3 separate regions of the Homo sapiens genome follow, and all the other regions are linked to region 2. The links are contacts of gene promoters, found by promoter capture Hi-C in human tissues and cell types (Jung and others, 2019). All regions are on one chromosome and are shown on one strand. Each heading gives the region's core, a stretch centred on a gene start or on the middle of the fragment in contact. The rest is flanking DNA. Distances are from core to core; before and after follow the strand shown. Region 1 has its middle 280 kb from the start of LINC02272. Region 2 holds the start of PDGFC (platelet derived growth factor C). Region 3 overlaps LOC105377509 (a long non-coding RNA gene).

Region 1 (4,128 bases), core at 747-3,246, 610 kb after region 2:
AAAATGTGGAATTGATGTATTTTACTTCTTTTTTTATAGCTATATCATGTACATGAAGACAAGAAAAAACCTTAAAATGGAAAATGTTAACCTTTTAAATAAAATATTAGAGCTTATGAGGGCTAATAATTCTGCTGTTTTAAAATTTTGGTCAAGTATGTTAGCCATATACTTAGCCTTACAGTTTCAAAATCACTCTACTCTTGAGTCTCATTTGAATTTTATTCTTTCTGTAATTAACACTAATAAGTACCTATGTGTACATAGAAAATTTTATTTTTAAAAAGTTTTTATGAAAAATAATATAACGATTCATTTAGAGTATATTGAGAAATAAAGCTAAGAGTAATTTAAGCCTCACACTCAACCAGAAATCTAAATGCCAGCTTATTATTTTTAAGACTCTCCGTTTAAGAATCAACCTGTTTGAACATTGCTAAAAATGGGTAAGGGTAAACAATGGGTAAGGATAAACCTATTTCATTTTTCTAGCATTTTCTCTTGACTTTAGAAGATCATGTTTTAAAATATTACAGTTGAATATAGAATGACATACATCATGGCTGTGCATATTTATTTTTTATTATAATTGTCTGCTTTCCACTCACCCCCAATAACAAAATGGCAGGCAACTGCCTGGATGGTCAAATAGCTCTAGGAAACAAGGTAGTTTCACCCCTTACTGAAAATCTACTACATTGGCAAAATATAGAGGTAATTTGAAGGACAGAAACAAAACAGAAGGCAAACATCGGTTCTTCTCATATGATGTGAAGTTATAATTATTGTCTCATAAAAATATTAGCTTTGAATACCATTAGGAAAGTATGATAAACAATACTTATTTAGTGAGATCTATGCAAAATTGAGAAATCAAGTGCCCCATAGCCCAATCATCCCTCCATCCTTTTTTCTTGAAATATGACTTACCCACCTTTATCTTTTCACATTCAATTATTTACAAACATTCTGACTCGTTTCATCCAGTTTCCTCTCAATATTTTGTTCTTCAGCTTTCACTGAAGTTAAAACTGCTTTTACATCAGACACATATGATTTAGAATCACCAAATTCAAGGACCTATTTTCTCTCTGAATACCCATCAGTCTCTAGAGGCATTTGACACTGTTTAAACTGGGACTTAATCTATCACCTAAGGCCCATTACTTGTATAAAAGCATTAAACAAGTTCCATCAGTTTTTTCTTTGCAACATTTTTCTCATGTCTTTTTCAAAAACAATGGGAATATCTTGGTCCTGAAAGTCACCTGAATTATTGTAAATATCTCCTGGCTAATATTTCTGGTTTCCTTCATCTCCTTCCATTCTTTAAACAATTCATAAATATGATTAGGATACAATGACAAATATTTTCTCCAGAGTTTCTCATGATGGGTTGAATTTTAGCTCATTAACTCAATCCAATATTTTACTCAAAGAAAATACTTGATTAAAACTAACCAGCATCTTGCCCAACTTACTATTCATATAGATTAAATTTATATGTCAACATATTTAGATGTATGTATCCTAGATAGATAATATTTTCCTGTTAACATAGCAAGGTGGCCTTTGGCAGCCAGGGTATTGGCTCCTGCTCTTAGGACACATAGTTGTTTTAAGTCATATAAAGTGATGAAGCCTCTACATGTATAAGGTGAAGAAAGATGTGAAGTCCCAAAAGCAGAGGGCTCGTTTGTAGAACAGAATAGTAGAGTAGAAATGTAATATTTTACCCCTTGTTGCTTTTCCAGTTGCTGATTATTTGAAAATTAATGGTGGTAACTCATGCAAATCATATGAATTACGCACAAAGAACAAACTAGAAGAAAATGTACCAATACTTAAGAGTTAGAAAATAATTTTAATATTCTCTTTAATACTTTGCAGTATTTTAAATTTATTACAATTATGGACATATTGGGTTTTTTATAGCTAGGAGTAAAATATGCACATTGATTAGATGTTTTGTAAGTGAGAAACCACAATTTTATAAGCTATAGTGCCTCTCCCCACAGCAGCTGAGCAATTGAACCAATTTAGCAACTGAAGTTACTTATTGCTTTACATATTTTAAATGGACTTTTTAAGAGCAGAATCTGATTTTGAATATATAAAACAATAGACTTAAACTACTTCAATACTCATAGAAATCTTATAACTTATTATCAGAGAAATATAAACATATTATGGGAAAAGAGAATTAGTGAACCTATTTCAATATCAATGATTTATCCATCTTGTCCACATTTTATAGATATAGATAGATTTATTGGCTCAACTAAATTTTTTCCAAACATATAATTATGTTTAAGTAGATATTTTAAATTCTGTAAGAAGTAGATGGTCTTTTAGTAATGATAATTTTTTATCTTACCGTTAATCCAAGTTATCTTTTTTATTACATTTGCTTGATTTCATATTACCATTGCAATATTGAAAATTCTAAATGCATCATTCTTACAATTTCAAACATTATTTGAGCCTTGAAGAAAAGGGAAAAATCCTAAAACTCATCTCTTAATTATATATAAAAACTGAATTTTGGCTAGGCACAGTGGCTCACCCCTATAATCCCAGCACTTTGGAAGGCGAAGGTGGGTGGATCACCAGAGGTCAGGAGTTGAAGACCAGCCTGGCCAACATGATGAAACCCTGTCTCTACTAAAAATACAAAAAATTGGCTGGGCGTGGTGGCAGGCACCTGTAATCCCAGCCACTTGGGAGGCTGAGGCAGGAGAATCACTTGAACCCGGGAGGTGGAGGTTGCAGTGAGCCTAGATTGTGCCACTTCACTCCAGCCTGGATGTCAGAGTGAGACACCGTCTCAAAAAAAAAAAAAAAAAAAACCAAAAAACTGAATTTTAAAATCTAAGCATTCTTTTGTCTTCCATAATTTTCAAGATTTAAGATATATTAGGAATTTGTCATAATTATTCAACTATTGAAGAACGAAATCTTGAAAGTATATAAACTCAACAGCCACTACATGATTTATTTTGCTTATTTTACTAAGTCCTTCTAGATTAGCTCACTTTAAATATTTTTTCTTTCCAATTTCTGTCCATTCTCTTTTTCCCAGTTACATACATTTTTATTTCATTCAACTATTAGTTCTGTAAGTTATAATGGAAAAACATATATCATTGTAAAGAGTGGATCATACTGTTTGTCTGATCATTTTATAATTTAGTCCAATGGGTTCAAATTCCTCCACATATGTAGCTTTAAGTCCTATTTACCATACCATTTGAAGGACTGATCACTTTCTTCATTTTGTTTTCTTTTCTGTCAATCATCTCAGAATGTTATGAACCTTTTCATATTAATAATTGATAATACAGACTTCTCAGTTGTATCTATTATATAGTGATAAATTTATTCTCAGTAAAATTATTTTTCTTCTGATTACTCTATTACTCATTTACTTAATGTTAAAGAAAACATCTTAAAGGCAGTTAGATAAAAATGTCGGATCATACACAGAGGGAACCCCATCAGGCTAACAGTGGATTTCTCAGCAAAAACTTTGTAAGCCTGGAGTGATTGTGGGCATATTTTCAGCATTCTTCAAGAAAAGAAATTTCAACCAAGAAATTAATATCCCACCAAACTAAGTTTCATAAAGCAAAGAAGAAATAGTTTCCAGACAAGCAAGCATGAAGATAATTCATTACCACTAGACTAGCCTTACAAGAGATACAAGAGAACTAAACATGGAAACTAAAGAATGATACCTACTACCAAAAAAAAAAAAAAAACACACTTAAGTACATAGCCTACAGACCCTGTAAAGTAACTACACAATAGAAACTACAAAGCAACTAGCTAACAACATCATGATAGGATCAGAATCTCACATATCAATATTAATGTGGAATGTAAATGGTCTACATTCCCCACTTTAGGGACACAGAATAGCAAATTGGTTTTAAAAAAAGAGACCTATCCACCTGCTGTCTTCAGGAGACTCATCTCACATAGAACAACACCACTAAGCACAAAGTAAGGGTTGGAGAAAGAGTTACCATGCAAGCAGAAAACAAAAAACAGCAGGGATCACAATTCTTGTGACAGATAAAATAGACTTTAAACTGACAATAATAAAAAAAGACAAAGAAAGGGATT
Region 2 (4,498 bases), core at 939-3,438:
TAAGTGACTCCAATAAAGAAACCTGTCAGTCAGTCAAGAGTGTTTATTTATTATCCCCCTGTGCCAAGCAATATTCTAGCCAATATGAAATGATACAAAATAAAGAGTAGTCATCACCCTTCCAATCTCCTGAGAGCAAATGGATTACATTTGCAGACACACACACACACACACACACACACACACACACACACACCCCACCTCTATGTGGGTGGTCAGGAAACTCAACTATATGGACATATAACAATTTCATTTAGAAAAGTGCTGATTAGAAAACTAAACTTACAAAATTAGAAAAACTGGAGAATAATGAATTTTATGAAAAATAGATTACAATGGATTCATAAGGCATGCCCTTTATTTAAGTCCCATTATGTTATTAAAATTGGGAATAACCCTTCACCCTCACAAATTTACAAAATATTTTTGGAACACATTATGCAAATATGGAGTCACACTGGTGTTGTGGAGCTGCTAACTCGAATAAAATACCATACTTGATAAAAAACCTTCTGTCCACTAAACTGTAAATGCCTTAAAGTCAAAGATCAGGCCTTATTTGCCTTTAGTGTATATTTAGTACTCTGTAGATAGAAGTGGTAAAGGGATAAGAATGAATGAATGAGACAGGCGGGTGAAATTTTCAAGAATGAGACAGATGGGTGAAGTTTTCAAAGGTTTCTAAAAGGGAAAAACAAGAAGACTAGGATATTCCAAGCAGAAAGGTCTGGTTGGTTGGCCCCAGTTGGTGTTCGCATATAAGAAGAGGGCTTGGCATTTTCCTCACCACTGAAGAAGGATCAGCCCCTGGTTTGGTCCAGTAAGAATATGTTCTTGCCCAAATGCCACTCCTTAGTTTCAGGGACATTGCTATTTTGGTTTTCTGTTCCAGCCCAAGTGTTCTTGATGGTCGAATTGTTTGCATTGACTTTTTTTCCACAAGAAGTTGGGTGATATTGCTGATTTGCCTGCCATGGCACTTCCTTGTTTTCATTTTGATTATTACTCAAAAATAGCTTCATTTTAAAATTCAACTTTTCTGACTCTCTGCTTGTGCCTTTAACACATTGACAATGATTTTCTGCTTCTCCACAAAGAAAGCACGTTGGATCCTGTCACAGACATATTTAGCAGACATGGAACCACCATAAGCCCTGCTTGGCATGTGTGTTTCATTTCAGACTACCTCATGAGAACTTTAGGTCTTAAAGCATCGGCCTCTCTCTCCAAGTCAGCCTGAACACAAGCCACAAGAGATTTCAGTTCTTTCTCGACCTTTTTGGTGTAAATGTAAACAATTCTATCACCAGGGGTTCAGGGCAGCCTAGTTTTGTTAGAGGCTGTATTGTAGGAAAGTCCAAGGTTGCAGGATCATTCTGAGTCCCTTAGACACCATTCTCAGAAGAGCTTGCTATTAGCTTAATGCTGCCCAACTACTACGTATGCTTCACGAGGGCAGGGACTTTTGTCTGTTTTCACTGCTACGGCTCCAACCTCTAAACAGTGCCCGACATAGTAGGCATTCAGTAAATATAGTACTTGTTAAATGGATGTTATTTTGGCTGCCTTTACTTTTGCTTTATTTGTCCTGCTTTACGGAGCTGGAAATTGGAGGAAAGCCTTTGAATTCATTTCCCTTCTTCCTTCTGTTCTGAAACTCTGGCCAAGGGTCCTAGCAAAGACCTTAGGGAGTGGGGAGCCCTCCTGGAAACTAATGACAAGTCAGGCGACAGGGGGCGGGAGAAGGAGAGCTGCAGGAAGTTCTTTCCCACTTACTTCTGCAGCACCCTTCACCACCCATCGTGCTCTGTATTTGGGGTTAGAGGTGTTCCGTGGAAGGGAAAGCAGGGGCCGCCTTGGCCGCGTTCCTCTCCTGGGCCACCGGGGTCTTGCCCACAGCGAGTCCCGCAGCACCCCCTGTCTGCGCAGCACCTGTTGACAGCCAGTGGGCGGCCAAGCCCGCTCGCGCGGACGCGTCCCAGGGCTGCCCCTCCCAGAGGCGCTGACCCCCGCCCGCCCCATCGGCCGCCTGCGGGAGAGCCGCTGAGCCGCCCCCGCTCGCCAGGCGCGCGCTCCGCCCGGGCTCGGCCCACGGCCCCCACCTCCTGTCTGCCGCCCGGCGGGGGGAAGGTAGAGAAGGGGAGGGGACAAGCCGGATCCTCCCGGCCGCCCCGGCCTTCCCTCTTCACCCCGTGCGGAGACGCCGCGCGTAGCCCCGAGGTTAGCGCGGAGCCCGAGGCGTGGGGGGAGGGGACGGGGAACAACCGGAGCCCCGCGGTGACCCCGAGCGGCCGAATTGCCCCAGGCTTTGAGGAGCGGGGGACGAGCCCGAACAAGGTGAACTTTGGTCGCGGAAAACTCAAGCCAGGTGCCGGAATCCGTGCTGCGGCGCTCCGAACCCGGGGCCAACTGCGCTCCGGGCTGAGGAGCGGGAGCCCCGCGGCCTCTCTCCGCCTGCGCCCGGGCCGCCGTCGGCCCGGAGCCCCCCGGCCCCGCTCCGGCGCCCCGGCCCGTGGGACCCGCCGCGGCGCCCTCGCCTTGTTTCTTCCCCCTCCCCCTTCGGGGGTGGGGGGTGGGGCGGGGGAGAGGGGCGCCCGGAGAGCCGCATCTATTGGCAGCTTTGTTATTGATCAGAAACTGCTCGCCGCCGACTTGGCTTCCAGTCTGGCTGCGGGCAACCCTTGAGTTTTCGCCTCTGTCCTGTCCCCCGAACTGACAGGTGCTCCCAGCAACTTGCTGGGGACTTCTCGCCGCTCCCCCGCGTCCCCACCCCCTCATTCCTCCCTCGCCTTCACCCCCACCCCCACCACTTCGCCACAGCTCAGGATTTGTTTAAACCTTGGGAAACTGGTTCAGGTCCAGGTTTTGCTTTGATCCTTTTCAAAAACTGGAGACACAGAAGAGGGCTCTAGGAAAAAGTTTTGGATGGGATTATGTGGAAACTACCCTGCGATTCTCTGCTGCCAGAGCAGGCTCGGCGCTTCCACCCCAGTGCAGCCTTCCCCTGGCGGTGGTGAAAGAGACTCGGGAGTCGCTGCTTCCAAAGTGCCCGCCGTGAGTGAGCTCTCACCCCAGTCAGCCAAATGAGCCTCTTCGGGCTTCTCCTGCTGACATCTGCCCTGGCCGGCCAGAGACAGGGGACTCAGGCGGAATCCAACCTGAGTAGTAAATTCCAGTTTTCCAGCAACAAGGAACAGAACGGTGAGTCTTTCCCCCATTCTCCCCCTGCTTGTTTCTCGCTGTGTGTGTTAACGTTGGCATTGTGCGTTGGTATGTGATATATACCAGACTGTGAAGGTATCTTTGGTCTCTCATTACATGCAAATGTGCGCTGCGTTCATTGGCATGGACTGTTAAAGGTTAAGTGTAGTTTGCAACTTCGGGAGCTGCCACAAAGCTCCAAGAGGGCAACGTGAGTGCCACTGCTGAGTGAGGACATTCTGGGAGCGATTGTGAACGTCATTTCAAATGCACATTGCAGGTTCGCTCATTGCTAAAGTTAGAAGTTCAAGAACTGCCTCTAAAAACGAATCCAAAATGAATGAGCCTTGGCATGTTTGACTTTACTCAGATTTGGGGAGGGCGAGGGGGGTCGGTCAGGAAATATATCAGCCGCATTAATTGAAGCACTCTAGGTCGAAGTCATCAATTAATCAATGAGTAGATAGGAAATATAGAGGTCAAGAGGCTGTGTGGTCGTTTTTAGAGGAATTAAAAAGTGTATTTCTCTTGCTCCCTAGTTTTTGTTTTTTAAACTTGCCTTTGTACTCTGAAGTCCTTACCTTTCTGGTGGTGTGTTTTTGTATGTGTTGGTGAATGACTGCTATTTTGTGTGTGCTGGAAACGACTTAATCCTGCATAGGAAATGAGAATTACTTTCAGCTTTCAAGTGTACCTGAAATGTTTAGAAAACTCTCAGATGCAAGTTCCCTTGGGCTGGGATTGCACAGAGCTGGAGAAAGGCTCCTTTCATAAAGCCAGGGCAGCTTCAGGGTGTGTAATTTGCTTAGCCTCTGAACCCATATGATTTACATCATTCAATTTCTAAACTCTTTTTCTCTTCATCTACCATTATGAAGTCATTTTTGAGAATACTTTGTAAATAGAAATTTTATACTGCACATGAAACCACAATGTTCATGTTAGGCTGTCTAAAATTGGAATATTTAACGCCCTGTTTACAAATGGTGGCTCTTACTGTAATTTGAAAAGGAATATACATGTTTTTACTGCTTTGTATATCATCTATTCAGAATGCAAGGATTCTGTCACTTGATTAACCATGCAAAATGAACACAAGTGGCATACCTACAAAATTAAGATAGGATGTGCTATAGTTTTAAGTCAGAGTGATTTTTTTTCCTTTTCATATTGGGGTGTTTCAAGACTTCAACTTTGAATTTAAACTCTATGAAGTGTTCATGTTTAAGAAAGCACAGAAAGTTTTAGGGTATAAAAGTAGATAAAATAAGGATTCTGCCGACTTTTGCAAACGTTA
Region 3 (4,253 bases), core at 1,715-4,214, 990 kb before region 2:
CAAGACTACATCTCAAAAAAAAAAAAAAAAAAAAAAAAGAAAGAAATATGAGATGACAGAGCAGGGCAAGGTTGACCAGGCAGCTGTGGACCCGCAAATTTTACCAAAAACCAAAGCTATTCCTCAGCTCCAGGGATACCTGCAACCTGTTTGGCCTGAAAAACGAAGCTTATTCTTAGAAATTGGTATTATAAATTTCTTACCAGTAACATAGTTAAATAACTGATACATGAAAAAATCAACCAAACAAAAAGAAACATATTATCAGCATCATGGATTTTACCAACACACTTTAGCTGAGTATATTTTATGTGTAAAGAACTACTAATAAGCCACGGAACACCTTGTTACTTCATTATACAGAATTCAGTTGGGGAATCCAGCTACTAATAATATATGTTAGACATTTATGACATATTACATTAAATATCTATGCATAGTATATATTAGTCACTAATAAATGTGAAATGACTTATAAGTGCTATTGAATGTGATAATCAGAATTAAATAAAGTAAACATCACCAGGGTCTCATTAGTTCTCTGAAAAGTTCATATTATAAATGGGCCATTAAAGTTACATGGAAAGTAAGAGTAGAGTTTGGAAGAAATAGAATTAATCTGCCTGATTCTCTACAACCTAAAGTTATGGGATATTACTGGAGTGAGAGCTTTAGTTATATGAATGGCACTATAATATCAGGTGGTTTTAAAATCATCCTTCCATTATTAAGATCCACTTGTAATACTAAAAGAGTTTGTCTTTTTGTAAGGGGAAGGACATTACTACCCTAAAAACAACATATATTCTATTGTGCTACGAATCAAGAGTATACAAGTAGAAAGAACATGGCACATCAAGGCTGAAGAAGGGGCTGATCCTTTATAGCTTAGTTATATTTTTGCTACACTGTTTGGATTCTGAAATAAAGATATATGGTTAAAGAAATATGTTGTGTAGCCGCTTTTATTGACAGAATGAGAATTGATTTTGTGCATGCCATGCAGTCCAATGATATACAGTTGTATATACAAATGATATATAATGTTTCTTGATTTTGAGAAGCTTTTACATGGCCTGGGAACCTAAATACAAACAAAAGAAACCATATAAACTATGTGTAATGGGATAGACAAGTGGGATTATTTCTAGCCATTCATGATGAATACTAAAAGGGTGTTGTGCTCCTCCAGAAGCAAGGAAGAGGAAAACTCAGCAAAGCATGGAAATTAGGCCCTTTTGCCACCAAATTATTTAAAAATACATTGACTACTTACTGTGTTCATTGCGTGGGCAAAAAGAAGAAGCTTCTGCTGTCATATTCTTTTTCTTTTTTCTTTTTTGAGATGGAGTCTCGCTCTGTCACCAGGCTGGAGTTCAGTGGCGTGATCTTGGCTCACTGCAGCCTCCACCTCTTAGGTTCAAGCTATTCTCCTGCCTCAGCTTCCCGAGTAGCTGGGATTACAGGCACGCACTACCATGCCCAGCTAATTTTTGTATTTTTAGTAGAGACAGGGTTTCACCATGTTGGCCAGGATGGTCTCCATCTCTTGACCTTGTTATCCGCCCACCTCAGCCTCCTGAAGTGCTGGGATTACAGGCATGAGCCACTGAGCCAGGTCTTGCTATCATATTCTTAATGAAATAATATTAATTTAATGTGTACATAGTACTTTAACTTTCATAAAGAACTTTAATGTATGATCTTACTTGATTCTCACAGCAGTCCTTCAAAGTAGGCATACTTCTTTATCATCATCTATTTAAAAATGAAATAAATAAGTAATGAAAGTAAAAGTTGAATAAGGTATTTGAAATGCCTTTCTTTCTTAGAGAAGTTATATACTTTTTTGCTTCTTTTTTAATTTTGGAAAGAAAATTTGACTACTTTTGTTATTTCAAGGAGGCTGTGTAGATTGGAAATTATATTTTGTTTGGTTGTTCCTCAAGGTGTATTTTTCTCCCCCATCTAACTTTTGCTCATCAGGACACGCCAAGTTGATGCTACGTAACAGAAAGGTGTTGATGAGAAAGCCTTCATCACCTCATTAGTTTATAGTCAAATGTGATTTACTTGGGAGGAAAGTAGCCACTGTCACCCCACCTGTCAGGATAAAAGAGAATAAAAAGTTACAGCTGTATGCCTAATGTAATTCTGGCTCCATTGGGGAGAATAAAAATAAATGTTCTCATTTTAAATTGCCTCAGGAAAAAGCCCTGAACATTATTAACCTGGCGTAATGTTTTCAGGCAGTCACTACTGTAAAACTCAGGTCCCTGAAAAGCATGATGCAGTAGCCCATATTGGCTTCTTATGGAAATAGTGTTAAATTATGCAACTTCAAGTTTGCCTCAATATATTTTAATAATTTAACACTGCTGTTGATTTCATCAACAGGCAAAAAGTATTGATTCATGAGAAAAAGCACATAATTTCATATGTAAAATCTAGTTAAGCAACAATTAAAAGAAATGCAATATTGTAGTCACCATTATATACCTTTTAAGTCTTGTAGGTAAAGGGAGAAATGATATATATTTGGGAATACTGTAAAAAGATACATGATACTACAGTGGGAAGAAGGGGAACAAACAGGAAAGAGTAAGGTATATCAGGGTTTATGCTGGAGTGTATTGAATTATTAATAAATACTTCAATAGCATCCTGAGATTATAGATAGCATACATGACTTTAAAGGAAAATAAATGTTTCATCTGGGACCAAGTAAAATATCAACAAGTAGGAAGTTTTATCATGTTTCTAACAAATCCCACCCTTCTTGATGCGAATTGTTTTGTTAGTGCTGGTGAAACTGTATACTTGATTTCAGTAATGTTGGGTACCATGTCTATGTTATTTTTCCTATTTTATGGATTTTTTTACCTTTTGATTTGTATTTTGCTTTTGAGTAGGTAAAATTCTTTTACTTTGCCAACCAGTCTTGGAGATAAGTCATAGATATGGTTTCCAATCATTCAAGAAAATACTTCATTTGCTTGTTTGTACTTAGAATCCACTCTGTTTTCTGAATATTTGCCCTTTTGAGTTTCATCAGATTGTGTGTTGTTAGACAGTCCTCACCAGATTCGTGGAGCTTTTGGTTTTTATTAGACATTCTTTGGGTATACTTAGGAAGTAGTTTAATGTCTTTGAATTCAAGTTGCAGAGTCTGATACTTTGCTCACAGTCACAGTGGGAAAATAATGAGAAAAATAACCACCCCAGCCTTTGTTACCATAGCGGAAAGTGAAGGCGAGAGGAAAGGTACTATAAATATACAGTTTCTCCCCGTCTCTACCGAGATGTCATCAAGTATTAAAGCTACTTGTTGCTGAATATGAACACCATATAGAAGTCATTGGTGAGCTTTATTGAAATAACACCATAAACTGAATACAGACTTAGGGTTGAATAGTGGGAAATTATATGCTGCATAAAAGGAAGGAAATTTTCCCTGGTGTTTTAAAACTGCATATGACAGTGTAAATCAGCGATAAAGGCCTGGTAGCTATCAGGAAGAAAGAGAAGCTGTTGAATGGGTTTTGATAATTATCCCAAAGCTTAGATAGACTTCAGCCTTTGATATATGTAGCACAATCTAAAAATAGCTGATTTAATTGCTCAACAGTTGTCTGCTCATTAGGCCTTAACCTTAGTAATGCATCAATGAATGACATCCAAGGCTTCAGCCCTCCAAATCTCTGCACTTGAAAATCCTCTTGTCATGCTCACCTTAATGCTGTTCTCTAAGGAAGGTATTTGCCAATGGGGAAGACTCTTGCATATAGAATATTGGAGTGTGGTTTCAAAACTTAGGTTAAAAGCTGTCAAATCTGTGCCTTGAGTGAAGGCCAAGTTTTCCATAGATCAAAGGTAATTCAGTATTGACTGTAGTCCAACTTCCCCTCAGGCAAAAAATGCCAGTTAAGCTGCTTTGGTTTAAAACAGGATGTCAGGCTAATTTTATCTTTTTTTTTTTTATTAAATTTTCTTGTGCAACTTCTTTATCCAGCTCAGCAATCTGATGCTCTCATTTCTGCATGAGACTGCATTTTTAGAGCGAGGAAATCATGGTCTTATCAAACGGGCAAAACCCTTACTTGGAAATATGGGAAAAGTCATTCTAACCTAGTTGTTCTTCAGTATCTCTTGCCTCCTCCTTAGAAATAGAAATTTTATCAAGGGATGCAGCCTTCAAAACAAAAACTGTATTTTCCCTTCTCCCTTACTACTAGGTGAGGGCTGGTGATTGG

The links. The method cuts DNA at HindIII sites, captures the fragments that hold promoters and counts their contacts. A contact is called where the count stands out against the background at its distance.
Region 1: a contact is called between a fragment that was not itself captured here and the fragment with the promoter of PDGFC in region 2, in 1 of the 25 tissues and cell types used here (mesenchymal stem cells).
Region 3: a contact is called between a fragment that was not itself captured here and the fragment with the promoter of PDGFC in region 2, in 1 of the 25 tissues and cell types used here (dorsolateral prefrontal cortex).

The regions. Positions count from the first base shown.
Region 1 is chr4:156,358,078-156,362,205 of GRCh38, reverse strand. No RefSeq gene overlaps it. Among named protein-coding and RNA genes, the nearest start is that of LINC02272, 280 kb to the left of the region's middle. The HindIII fragment of the contact is 6,574 bases long and covers 1-4,128 here.
Region 2 is chr4:156,969,489-156,973,986 of GRCh38, reverse strand. It overlaps PDGFC (platelet derived growth factor C), which reads left to right and starts at 2,188. Exons shown (of 6, transcript NM_016205.3): 1 at 2,188-3,201. The coding sequence starts at 3,084. RefSeq lists an enhancer at 1,901-2,401. The HindIII fragment of the contact is 11,394 bases long and covers 1-4,498 here.
Region 3 is chr4:157,964,377-157,968,629 of GRCh38, reverse strand. All of the region lies in intron 2 of LOC105377509 (a long non-coding RNA gene), which reads left to right. It also overlaps the pseudogene RPL6P11. Among named protein-coding and RNA genes, the nearest start is that of GASK1B-AS1, 200 kb to the left of the region's middle. The HindIII fragment of the contact is 3,557 bases long and covers 1,186-4,253 here.